Linked DNA regions of Homo sapiens: region 2 is linked to region 1. The links are contacts of gene promoters, found by promoter capture Hi-C in human tissues and cell types (Jung and others, 2019). All regions are on one chromosome and are shown on one strand. Each heading gives the region's core, a stretch centred on a gene start or on the middle of the fragment in contact. The rest is flanking DNA. Distances are from core to core; before and after follow the strand shown. Region 1 holds the start of BEND3 (BEN domain containing 3). Region 2 overlaps SOBP (sine oculis binding protein homolog).

What was found. Contacts are between HindIII fragments. The study calls those that stand out against the background at their distance.
Region 2: a contact is called between a fragment that was not itself captured here and the fragment with the promoter of BEND3 in region 1, in 1 of the 25 tissues and cell types used here (H1 embryonic stem cells).

What each region holds. Positions count from the first base shown.
Region 1 is chr6:107,112,939-107,118,837 of GRCh38, forward strand. BEND3 (BEN domain containing 3) reads right to left here and starts at 2,577. Exons shown (of 4, transcript NM_001367314.1): 1 at 2,152-2,577. RefSeq lists silencers at 1,291-2,200, 2,331-2,380, 2,421-2,470 and enhancers at 3,063-3,826, 3,827-4,592. The HindIII fragment of the contact is 9,723 bases long and covers 1-5,899 here.
Region 2 is chr6:107,633,294-107,639,192 of GRCh38, forward strand. It overlaps SOBP (sine oculis binding protein homolog), which reads left to right. Exons shown (of 7, transcript NM_018013.4): 6 at 221-2,176. The coding sequence ends at 2,173. Among named protein-coding and RNA genes, the nearest start is that of SOBP, 150 kb to the left of the region's middle. The HindIII fragment of the contact is 5,510 bases long and covers 750-5,899 here.

The sequences.
Region 1 (5,899 bases), core at 1,327-3,826:
ATGAGGTCAGGAGATTGAGACCATCCTGGCTAACACGGTGAAAGCCCGTCTCTATTAAAAATACAAAAAATTAGCCGGGAGTGGTGGCACGCGCCTGTAGTCCCAGCTACTCGGGAGGCTGTGGCAGGAAAATCCCTTGAACCTGGGAGGCGGAAGTTGCAGCGAGAAGAGATCACGCCACTGCACTACAGCCTGGTGATAGAGCGAGACTCTGTCTAAAAAAAAAAAGCACGGTGGCTCATGCCTGTGATCCCAACACTTTGGGAGGCCAGGCAGGCAGATCACCTGAGGTCCGGAAACCAGCCTGGGCAACATGGTGAAACTCCGTCTCTACTACAAATACAAACATTAGCAAGGCATGGTGGCACATGGACTGTAATCCCAGCTACTCCGTGAGGCTGAGGCAGGAAAATCGCTTGAACCCGGGAGGCAGACGTTGCAGTGAGCAGAGATCAAGCCACTGCACTCCAGCCCGGGTGACAGAGCGAGACTCCGTCTCAAAAAAAAAAAAAAAACAAAAAAAAAACTCATGTTCCATGACAGGAGGTTGATGTGACAGATTTCAAGGGCCACACAGACACCAGCTAACCCAGCAGCAGCAACTGGCGCTCTGGCTCCATCTTTCCTCTAGAATCCAAGAGGCTCTCTCCATTCATTTAGGAAATACGCACTGAACGCCTACTAAGTTATGAGACACCGGGTTAGAGGCTGGGGATGTGAAACTGTGAGGGAGATAAAAAATCTTGCCCAAGTCCCAGTACCGAGGAAAGCTTGACAGGCTCTTGTATGGTAGTATAAAGCCAATATCTAGGGATGAATGGTTTAAAAAAAAAAGAGAGAAAAACGGACTGCAAGGGTGGAAGTGGGGAGCGGGTAACAAGAGAAAGTCCTCCATCCCAGCCGTTTATATACCTGGCTACCTGAAGGACTCAGTTCCTTACCTCAGTTTCCTGCAACCGTAGCTTTCTGGCACTATGCCACGCTGCCCTGTGGCATGTTTACTATTTGTATTCAACCATTCAAAAGTTACTTTAAGGAGATGAACTGCACATTTCCAACTCTAGTGAGTAACCTTGTTCCTCCCGGCACTCTTGTCGAGTTAGCGTTTACGTGCAGAATTCTTCCAGAAAGACCACCTGAGCAATCAATAAAACTTTTATCTCTGTAAAAACACCTTGTTTAAAATAGCTACATAGGGAGACGTAGGTAAACAAGCACACAAGGGCCTCCAAATCGGTGGTGCACAGCTCACGGATGAGGCAAGGGCAAAGCATGCGTGGGAAATCACGTTTATCATAGAGAAGGAAAGGAGCGCTCACGAGGAGCGGCGAGCGCCCCAGGCTTCAGCTTTGCGGCCGGCCGGCCAGGCCTCGCGCCAGCCCGGGTGCACACCCAAGGCGCCGGGCCCGCCTCCAGCTCCTGGGCAGCGGGAACCGCGAACCGCCGTGGAACGGCCGGGAAGGGAGCGCTGCGCCCCCTGGCGGCGGGGCCCATCCCTCTCCGCTCCCGGCCGCCGCCGCCGCGGGCCGGCCTCGCTCCATTTGCAGCCTCCGGAGGCTTCGTTCCTCCGAGCGGCTGCTCCCCCGGCCTCCCGCTCGCCGCCCGGCATCTCCCTCCAGTCCCCGCCCCCTGCTCCCGCTCCGACACCCCCTTCCACACGCCGAGCAGTGCCCCGCCAAAGCCCCGCCGAGCGCGAGCGCCAAGCCGCCGCGAGTACGGCAGAGCCTTCCGGCCGCCCCGGCCGCTCCATCGCGGCGCCCGGCGGGGGTGCGGGGCCGGCGCGCGGCGCGAGTGGGGCGGGCGGCGGCGGCGGCGCGGACGGTTCCACCGCGCGAACCCCCCGCCCCCGCGCGGCGCGCGTGCTCCCCAGAACGCCATGGAGCCGCCGCGTTCCGAGCGGGCACAAAGGGGCGCGCAGCACAATGGGCGCGGCGAGCCCGTGGGCGCCCGGCGCCCGCTCCGGTCGCTCGGCCCGCGCGGGGGTGGGCGCTACTACCGGCGGGCGCGCTCGGAGCAGCCCCCCTCCGCGTCCCCTCCCCTGCTCCCGCCCCCACCCCGGCATGGATGTTGCAGCCACTCTACCGGCCGCTCGCCCCGGAGCCGCCAACGCTGCCGCCGCCGCGCGGCCGGCTTGATCCGCCCCGCACTTACCTGGGACGCGAGTTCTGTACTTTGCCGGGCGGGCCCGCGCCGAGTTTGGGCGCCACGTGGGGGGGAGGGCGCGGGGCCGGGGAGTGGGGGCCGCGCGCGGAGGGCCTGGCCAGGGCGGCCCGGGGAGGCGCTGGGGGCGGCGGGCGGGCGAGCGCCGTGTATTTTCCCCTCTCTTTGTGTGTGTCCGTGCGCTGCGCTCTCGCGTGACGTGACGGGACTCCGTGTGTCATTTCCGCACAAGGACACAGGAGCCCCCGCTGCAGTGGAACCACAACCCCTCCGCCCCCACCCCCGGCCCGCCCCTCCCCCTCAGCGGGGCACACGCGGGACCGGCGGCGGCGGCGCTCGGGCGTGAACGGCCGCGGCGGGGAGCTCGGGCGCGCACTCCCGGGACCCAGGCGGCCCGGCGCGCTCGGCCAGCGCAGTGGCTCCACGTGGGCCCGCGCTGGCTGCCCGGGGCGGGGGCGGCGGCCGCGCACCCACGGCGCGCCGGGCAGGCGCCGCGAACAATGTCCCCTGTACCCCATGTGTCCTCCCACCGCGAGTTCGTCCTCGGAAACGTGGTTTCTCAGACCCGAGAGTTTGGCCCCAAACGGCTTTTTCTACTTTTTTGCCCCTTGCGGGACGGCGACTGTGCGGAGCTTGTCCCGCCTCGCGCCCACGCCTCTCCCGCATTTTTGGCCTTTGGGCCGCAGCCCAGGCCCCCGGGGCCGGTCTTCCCGCGCCGCCACCGGCACAAAGACCTTGGGGCGCGAGGGCCCGGGTGGCTCCTGCGGCCCCGCGGGGCGGCATGGAGTCCGGCGGGACCCGGGAGAGCGACCCTGGCGCTGGGAAAAGCTGGCTCTGGCCACTCCCCCTGCACGGTGGCCGCCCTCTGTTGTGAGCCTCAGAGCTAAAATCTGCTCTTGCAACCCGAAGTTCTGGGGTGTGAGGCTGCGGAGCGAGAGCTTCGGAAGCGCCCGCGCTCACAGACACACACCCCACAAACACAAACCCACGGGCTGTCTGCGCCGAGCGCCTAAAATAGAAAAACACGAGTCACCAACTCAATAAAGGCTGATTCTGTCTACTCCTAACTCTTGGACTGTAGATTCCCAGTTGATAAATACGAAATCTACCCCTCGGGTATTTTCTCAAGTCTCAGTGGCTGGGTAGGGGGAGGGGGAGGTGCTGGGTGAGAGTCAGGGAAGCCCAATTCAACAGTTTAGCCACGTTTGTATTTTAGGCAAACAATGAGAATGTAAATTTAAGAAAAATCCTTTAATTTGCCGATCAAAGAAAGTATAAAAAGAAAAATGCAAATGATCCCATCTGCTGCTCACAGCTGACTGGCTGCAAGGGAGGACCATGTGGCACGGCCCTGCGCGGTCAGTGAATAGGTAGAATAGATTTTTAAAAGAAGGCATATGTTGGCTCCTTGCTGCCCAGTCGCGGCGAGGGTTTGAATTAACGTATAGTTTGGGTTTACCGTACCCTCCTTCAGACCACTCCAATTGGGAATTTAGTAATTATGCAAGTTCCCCCCCTTCGGGCTTGAAATCAAAAGGCACAGGGTTAAGTTTGAGGAACTACGTGGAACATTCTCGAGCTGTATTTGGATTACTGGTTTAGTGAAGTCAGTACTAATTGCTATGCAAAATTAAGCAAGCAGCCTGAAGAACCAAGCCCTGCATCCAGGGGGTGCTTTTATAGAAGAATCTATACGTGCTCAGTGTCATTGAAAACAGGATGATGAAAAGAATGGGGCCGAGATAGCAGCCCTTCAAATTCAAAAGACTTAGGTCGCCCTATCTACATTTAAAATAGGGCGGAGGGAGGAAGGGAGGAGGACTGCTTGGGGGAGAATGGTTAATTTATACATTCGCAGAAGACTGAGGGGAGGCACTTCGATTTCTGCAGAGAACTTGACTTTTACACTTGCACATTAAATAACACGTACGACACAGTACATCGCTTGACTTAGTTAACAGATACACCAGTTTTATTCTCACCTTCAATTTAATGTGACAGTTATAATTAGAATTTTTAAAGTAGAAGTTGCATTTCATTAGTTCAGTTTTCTAGGATTTCCCAGTAGAAGAGTTAGGAATAGTTAAGTAGCACTTAAGCACATTTTGCATTTAAATCACTTTGCTGTGGTGCTTTAAGAATGTAAAACGACCTTGTTAAATTTTTGGAAAGAGGACTAGATGAAACGTGTGTAGTGAGGGGATATATATTTAACCAATCTTTCACAGTGACAACTCAGGTTTTTAAGGAGAAATTAAATAATAAGACAATAGAGATAGAAATTAACATTTCTCTGTTCATATTGCTTGAAACAAAAGATTTCTGTCAAATACAATAATTGAACTGATATAGCTGACTTTTCAAAACAACTTTCAGGAAACTCAAACGGACCTTGAATATTATTGTAAAAGTATGTATCTTATATTTGCATAAATGGATCTATCTACTTAACAAAGTAAGTGGCTTGTTTCAAATAAGTTATTAATAGAAATAGAAGTCATTGCTATCCAAGAAAGGAAATCACCTTCCTTCAAATGGTTTTCTATGTGGTTTTCTTTTTTATATGGAGAAGGAAAATAACGCATAAAGGTGAAAAATGTATTGGAATAGTTGTATATAATTTTGGAAACTTCAAGACATAATAGTTTTGAAAGTGCAGTAACAGTTCATGGTTCATACGGATGTGTGTGTAAAGACCCGGAAAAATAACAACCTGGTTTTTAGAGGTCTGCTCAATTTGAAATTGCTTAATAAAAAATGCATTTTTCAAGATTTCAAATTAGAGCTGCTGCCATCGATCTAGTCAACTCATTTTCATTTGTACCTGAGTAAAATGTAGCAGGGGGAAAACTGGCTACTTGACCATATAAAACACTGAGACACTAAATGTAAAAACTCAAATGGAAAATTGCGTTATATAAAATGGGATATAAAAGAAGATTGGGATATAAAATGTAAATATATATAATTAAGAGTGGCAGACAGACAGACATTAGGTTTCAGATAACTGTTACTCTAAAGGCTTTTATCATTGCTAAAATATATTTATAGTTGGCAAGACAATATTTAGTAGGACTTTTTTTCAGTAAAGACTTAAAACAACGCAACAGATTTCACTGTTACTTGTGAGACATTTCCACTTTATTTCTTGCCTGCTGGATGTATAATTTCGCCAAGTCTTCAACTTCAAACAGAAGTAGCTGGCAGATCCAGATTCTGTGAATACTCACAACAGAAAAGTAAGAGGGTGAAAAACAGGGGCGTGAGAGGTAGTACTATATTAAATAGGACCTACAGAAAGACATGCCTCAATGGTTAACCCCTGTGTGCTGAAAAAATAAACAACTATCTTTTTTTTTTTTTTTTTTTTGAGACGGAGTCTCGCTCTGTCGCCCAGGCTGGAGTGCAGTGGCGCGATCTCAGCTCACTGCAACCTCCGACTCCCTGGTTCAAGCGATTCTCCTGCCTCAGCCTCCTGAGTAGCTGGAATTACAGGCATGTGCCACCACGCCCAGCTAATTTTTGTATTTTTAGTACAGACCGGGTTTCACCATCTTGGCCAGGATGGTCTCGATCTCCTAACCTTGTGATCCGACCGCCTCAGCCTCCCAAAGTGCTAGAATTATAGACGTGAGCCACCACGCCCGGCCAACAACTATCTTTATTGGAATGTGGAGCAGGTAAGTGATATACCATGACCCAACATGAAAAAAATGAGGTTTCAAATGAAAAGTTACAG
Region 2 (5,899 bases), core at 2,255-4,754, 520 kb after region 1:
AGGAGGTTGTGATAATTGGTATTCTGAAGAGCTCATATTTATAAAGCCAACCCATCATTTTACAAACATTTCAGAATTTTACCTTTTAGAAGGAAACAGTTCTGCCTGTTTGAGAAGTGCTGGTAAAGTTTAAAAGAACCTTTATGTGAAACACGAAACGTCATCTACCCAGGTAAATTGCTTGTCTTACCTGTTGTGGTTTTTTATTACTGTGTTGTAGGTATGTGACTGGTGTAAGCACATAAGACACACAAAAGAATACCTGGATTTTGGGGACGGGGAAAGAAGGCTTCAGTTCTGCAGTGCAAAATGTCTCAATCAATACAAAATGGACATTTTCTACAAAGAGACCCAGGCCAATCTTCCAGCTGGGCTGTGCAGCACATTACACCCTCCCATGGAAAATAAAGCAGAAGGCACCGGGGTGCAGCTGCTCACTCCAGACTCTTGGAATATCCCGCTAACAGATGCTCGGAGGAAGGCCCCCTCCCCGGTGGCTACAGCTGGCCAAAGCCAGGGCCCTGGCCCGTCGGCGTCCACCACCGTCTCTCCATCTGACACTGCCAACTGCTCTGTCACTAAAATCCCCACGCCAGTGCCCAAGTCCATCCCCATCAGCGAGACTCCAAATATCCCTCCTGTCTCCGTCCAGCCACCTGCTAGCATCGGGCCTCCCCTTGGCGTCCCGCCTCGGAGCCCTCCCATGGTGATGACCAACCGCGGCCCGGTGCCGCTGCCCATCTTCATGGAGCAGCAGATCATGCAGCAGATCCGCCCGCCCTTCATCCGCGGGCCTCCGCACCATGCCTCCAACCCCAACAGCCCCCTGTCCAACCCCATGCTTCCCGGCATCGGGCCCCCGCCCGGTGGCCCCAGAAACCTGGGCCCCACTTCCAGCCCCATGCACCGGCCCATGCTATCGCCCCACATCCACCCCCCGAGCACCCCCACCATGCCCGGGAACCCCCCAGGCCTGCTGCCCCCGCCGCCTCCGGGCGCCCCGCTGCCGAGTCTTCCCTTCCCGCCAGTGAGCATGATGCCAAATGGCCCGATGCCGGTGCCCCAGATGATGAATTTCGGGCTGCCGTCGCTTGCCCCGCTGGTGCCGCCCCCGACCCTGCTCGTGCCGTACCCCGTGATCGTGCCCCTACCGGTGCCCATCCCCATCCCCATCCCTATCCCTCACGTCAGCGACTCCAAGCCCCCCAACGGGTTCTCCAGCAACGGGGAGAACTTCATTCCGAACGCCCCTGGCGACTCCGCGGCGGCGGGCGGCAAGCCAAGCGGACACTCCCTGTCCCCCCGGGACTCCAAGCAGGGCTCGTCCAAGTCCGCGGACTCGCCCCCCGGCTGCTCGGGCCAGGCCCTGAGCCTGGCGCCCACGCCCGCCGAGCATGGCCGGAGCGAGGTGGTGGACCTGACGCGGCGCGCCGGCAGCCCCCCGGGCCCCCCGGGCGCGGGCGGCCAGCTCGGCTTCCCAGGCGTGCTGCAGGGCCCGCAGGACGGCGTCATCGACCTGACCGTGGGCCACCGAGCCCGGCTGCACAACGTGATCCACCGCGCGCTGCACGCGCACGTCAAGGCGGAGCGCGAGCCGAGCGCCGCGGAGCGCAGGACCTGCGGCGGCTGCAGGGACGGCCACTGCAGCCCGCCCGCCGCCGGCGACCCAGGCCCGGGCGCCCCGGCGGGCCCCGAGGCGGCCGCGGCCTGCAACGTCATCGTGAACGGCACGCGCGGCGCCGCCGCCGAGGGCGCTAAGAGCGCGGAGCCGCCTCCCGAGCAGCCGCCGCCGCCGCCGCCGCCCGCGCCCCCCAAGAAGCTGCTGTCGCCTGAGGAACCGGCGGTGAGCGAGCTAGAGTCGGTCAAGGAGAATAACTGTGCTTCCAACTGCCACCTGGACGGGGAGGCGGCCAAAAAGCTGATGGGCGAGGAGGCCCTGGCGGGGGGCGACAAGTCAGACCCGAACCTTAATAACCCCGCGGACGAGGACCATGCCTATGCTCTGCGGATGCTGCCCAAGACCGGCTGCGTGATCCAGCCTGTGCCAAAACCCGCGGAGAAGGCTGCCATGGCACCGTGCATCATCTCCTCGCCCATGCTCAGCGCCGGGCCTGAGGACCTGGAGCCGCCGCTCAAAAGGAGGTGCCTCCGAATTAGAAATCAGAATAAGTAAAAGGTTTGTATGTCCGCCGGGCGCTCCTCCACACCAGCCAGTGCACCTCTCCTTACTTCTGACAAGGCAGAGGGGAGAGTTGTAATTATAGTCATGATTTTACCGTGTGTGTTTTATATTGCACACGGTGTGGTCACGCTATCAACATTCTGAGCCAGCAGCTCTGATGCTGAGTTGTTCAGTAGCATCATTCCCATTTTACAGCCGAGGAAACTGAGCCACAGCATGTGAGTGCCAAGCCCCGGGTCACTTACTTGAGGGGAGAGCTCAGTCTCCAACCTGTCATGAAATATTGTCTCTCCAATTACACTTTATTATCATGCTCATCTCCGTAAATCACCCTATTGGAGAAGAGGAGGATGGGGGGAGGGAGAAGAGATTAACTTGGGACACCTAAATGTGTGATCATGAGGTTGCAGGGCAGTGGTGAAATGTCCAGTGAACCCATGAGCTGGGCCACCTACTAAATAGAGCTGGTTGCCTCATTGGCAGAATGTCACCAAATTTTCTTGATAAGGACGGGATTCCATTTGTAAAGTGAGAATGAAACCTAACTCTTACATGCATATGTCAACTGAACCCAGGCCACTGAGTCCTATTTGCCTGGCAGGGTGTCTTTCCTGTTCATGGGGTCTCCTTCCTGCAGTTTGGCACCAAGCAGCATCCCCCAGGGTAGGCCTCAAGCGTCACTGACCAGCTTTGCTCTCTCCCCCTTTTGGGGCCCAGCGGCTTAGCTGATGAGTTGCTCACCTTTGCAGGTAATGGGAGGCTTCGATAGGGAAGAGGGTGGCATTGCTAAAGTGAGTGACACTGCACATCTCTGACCTCATAGACAGACTCCTGCCTAATGCCAAGTGAGCCGCCAAGAGTGAGTTAAATTTTTCAATATTGGGAAGGGGAACTAACATGTGTGCCTGTCATAGGCAGAGGTGGCCTCATTTGCTCCTCCTGCCAATTCTGGTGGAATAGGCATCATCTGTATCTCACCAAGGAGGCAGATGAAGCTTAGATACTGTGCCCGAAGCAGAGCTGGTACGTGGGGAAGCCGTATTCAACTCAGGCCTGTTGGACACAGCCCAAGCTCTCCCGTCTATCCAAGCGGGCATCAAACAGGCCAAAATTCAGTTGAGTTTATCAACTTCTTATGGAGAGGAAGAGGAGAGATGAGCATTTATTGAGCACCTAACTTGTACACTGCTCCTTCCAGGGACTAGGGAGATACAAAGGTAAATGATGGCGTGCCCCCATCTGGTGGGAGTGCAAACTCCAGGAGGAAGGAAGCGGGGGCCAGGAGAGTGGATCTCGTAAGATGAATAATTGCTCACATTTGTATGCAGGCTGTCTTCTAAGTGTTTTTCGGTAGTATTTATTTGGATCTGGGTCCATAGGACAATTATCGTCTTCATTTTATTGATGAGGAAACCAAGACAGAGACATTAAAGTAACTTGCCCAAGATTTTACCAAATTAGCAGAGTTGAGATGCAAATCCAGGCTGTCTGACTCCAGAGCTGCATTTTTTAAAAAACCACTGTAGGAGAATAGGCTAATTAGTTTCTTTATTACCCTACATACTAAAATTGTTTTACCCACCTCAGTGGGTAAAACAACCCTCAGTTGTCATAGGGGAAAGTTTCTTAAAAAACAAACAAAAACTGAGTCTACCTCCTAACTTCTCTAAGTGTTCAGACAGTTGAATTCTTGTTTCTGCAGCACCAACAAGCCTAAATTACCAACCCATTACTCCACAGTGGGAAATACAAACGTGGAGCACAGCACTTGCTGTGGTGTGTCCAGTCCCTGGTCTCTAAGTTGGGCCCCTAGCATAGCCAGGAGATTGCTTGGGAAGCACAGACCAGAGCAAGGAGACTTGTCAGTTGAGGAAGAAAGGTTTCTCAGCCACCATCGTTCGAGGTTTCCTTTTCCTCTGATGGCTTTGCCAGTAGAGGAAGAATACTAAAAATGAGTTCACCATTCCTTCTTGATTTTACATCTACAAGTTCTGCTGCCTGAAGACAGATGGCCTCAGCCTTCTCACAGTCACCTCAATTGAAAATGCCCCTGATTTCTTCACGAGAGTAATTTAATCTGGTTGACAAAGCTGTGAGTAATGGGAAGATGTGTGACAAAAAAAGTGACGGCCTTCAGAAAGTCAGAAAGCATTGGGAATTGTCACTTTAAACACATTCTAATATCACTCATTCAGGTGAGGCTGAAAAGAAGAAGAATGGGAGGGTGAGAGATTTTACTATTATACCATCATTGGAGTGAGAAGTGACCAGGTCAAGAATAGTGACACTAACATATGAGTAGCTTGGGACCAAAATAACATAAAAACATAAAATACACGATGGCTATTTGGATGATATATGTTTCTGAATAAAGAATCAGTCTTGTATGTGGACCAGAATCATTAAAAATATCAACCTGGCTCCAGCCAATTTCAGAAGATGTGGTGATGAAATTGCCCACTACCTCTTGAGATTGAAGAGTTCTTTCAATGATGGGTCCCCCAAGAAATTACAGCTTTTCTTTAAAATCAGAAATACAGAAATACTCAGGCTTTGTCAGCTACGAAAGGGTGACAAGGCAAGTGATTTAAGATGGGGGAAAAACCACCTCTCCTCCACTAAATCACATTTCCTCTTGCCCTCAGAAGTTCCGTGTCACCTCACAGCACAGTCTCAACCTGCCACAATTTACTCACATTCTCTGGCCCTTCCTGGTTTGTTTTATTTATTTATTTAGTTATTTATTATTTTTTGAGACAGAGTCTCAATCTGTCACCCAGGCTGGAGCGCAGTGGCGCGACCTTGGCTCACTGCAACCTCGGCTGCCTGGGTTCAAGTGATTCTCCTGCCTCAGCCTCCTGAGTAGCTGGGGTTATAGCCACGCGCCACGATGCCCAGCTAATCTTTGTATTTTTAGTAGAGACAGGGTTTTGCCATGTTGGCCAGGCTGGTCTCGAACTCCTGACCTCAGGTGATCCACCCACCTCGGCCTCCCAAAGTGCTGGGATTACAGGTGTGAGCCAACGTGCCCAGGCCCCTTCCTGTTTTTTTGTGCACATGTGGTGCTGTTTTTCTTCTATGCCTTCAGAAACCCAGACCGTTCATATGGTTGGGGAAATTGGAAGTGTATCCACTAAATAAAGGACCGTATGGCTTTTGTGCCCTGATGCTGAACACTGGTGACAAGTTAAAAGCCAAAGTGGAAAGTGTTACAAACCAAAAGCAAAACTCAGGCTGAGATGTGGTGGGTGAGGTGCAGGTGAATGATTTCTCCGTGTGCTTGTTGGTGATTCATTATATATTATTTCTCATATATATTCATTATATATTATATAGGATAATCTGTCAATAACTTCAGTCAGCTCTTCATTCTTCTCACTATGTCTGCCTTTTTCATACTGTAGTACTATTTTATTATTTTTATTTTATTTTATTTATTATTTTTTTGAGACAGTCTTGGTCTGTTGCCCAGGCTGGAGTGCAGTGGCACAATCTGGGCTCACTGCAACCTCTGCCTCCGGGGTTGAAGCAATTCTCCTGCCTCAGCCTCCTGAGCAGCTGGGATTACAGGCACATGCCACCATGCCCAGCTATTTTTTATATTTTTGGTAGAGATGGGGTTTCACCATGTTAGCTAGGCTGGTCTCAAACTCCTGACCTCAAGTGATCTGCCCACCTTGGTCTCCCAAAGTGTTGGGATTACAGGTGTGAGCCGCC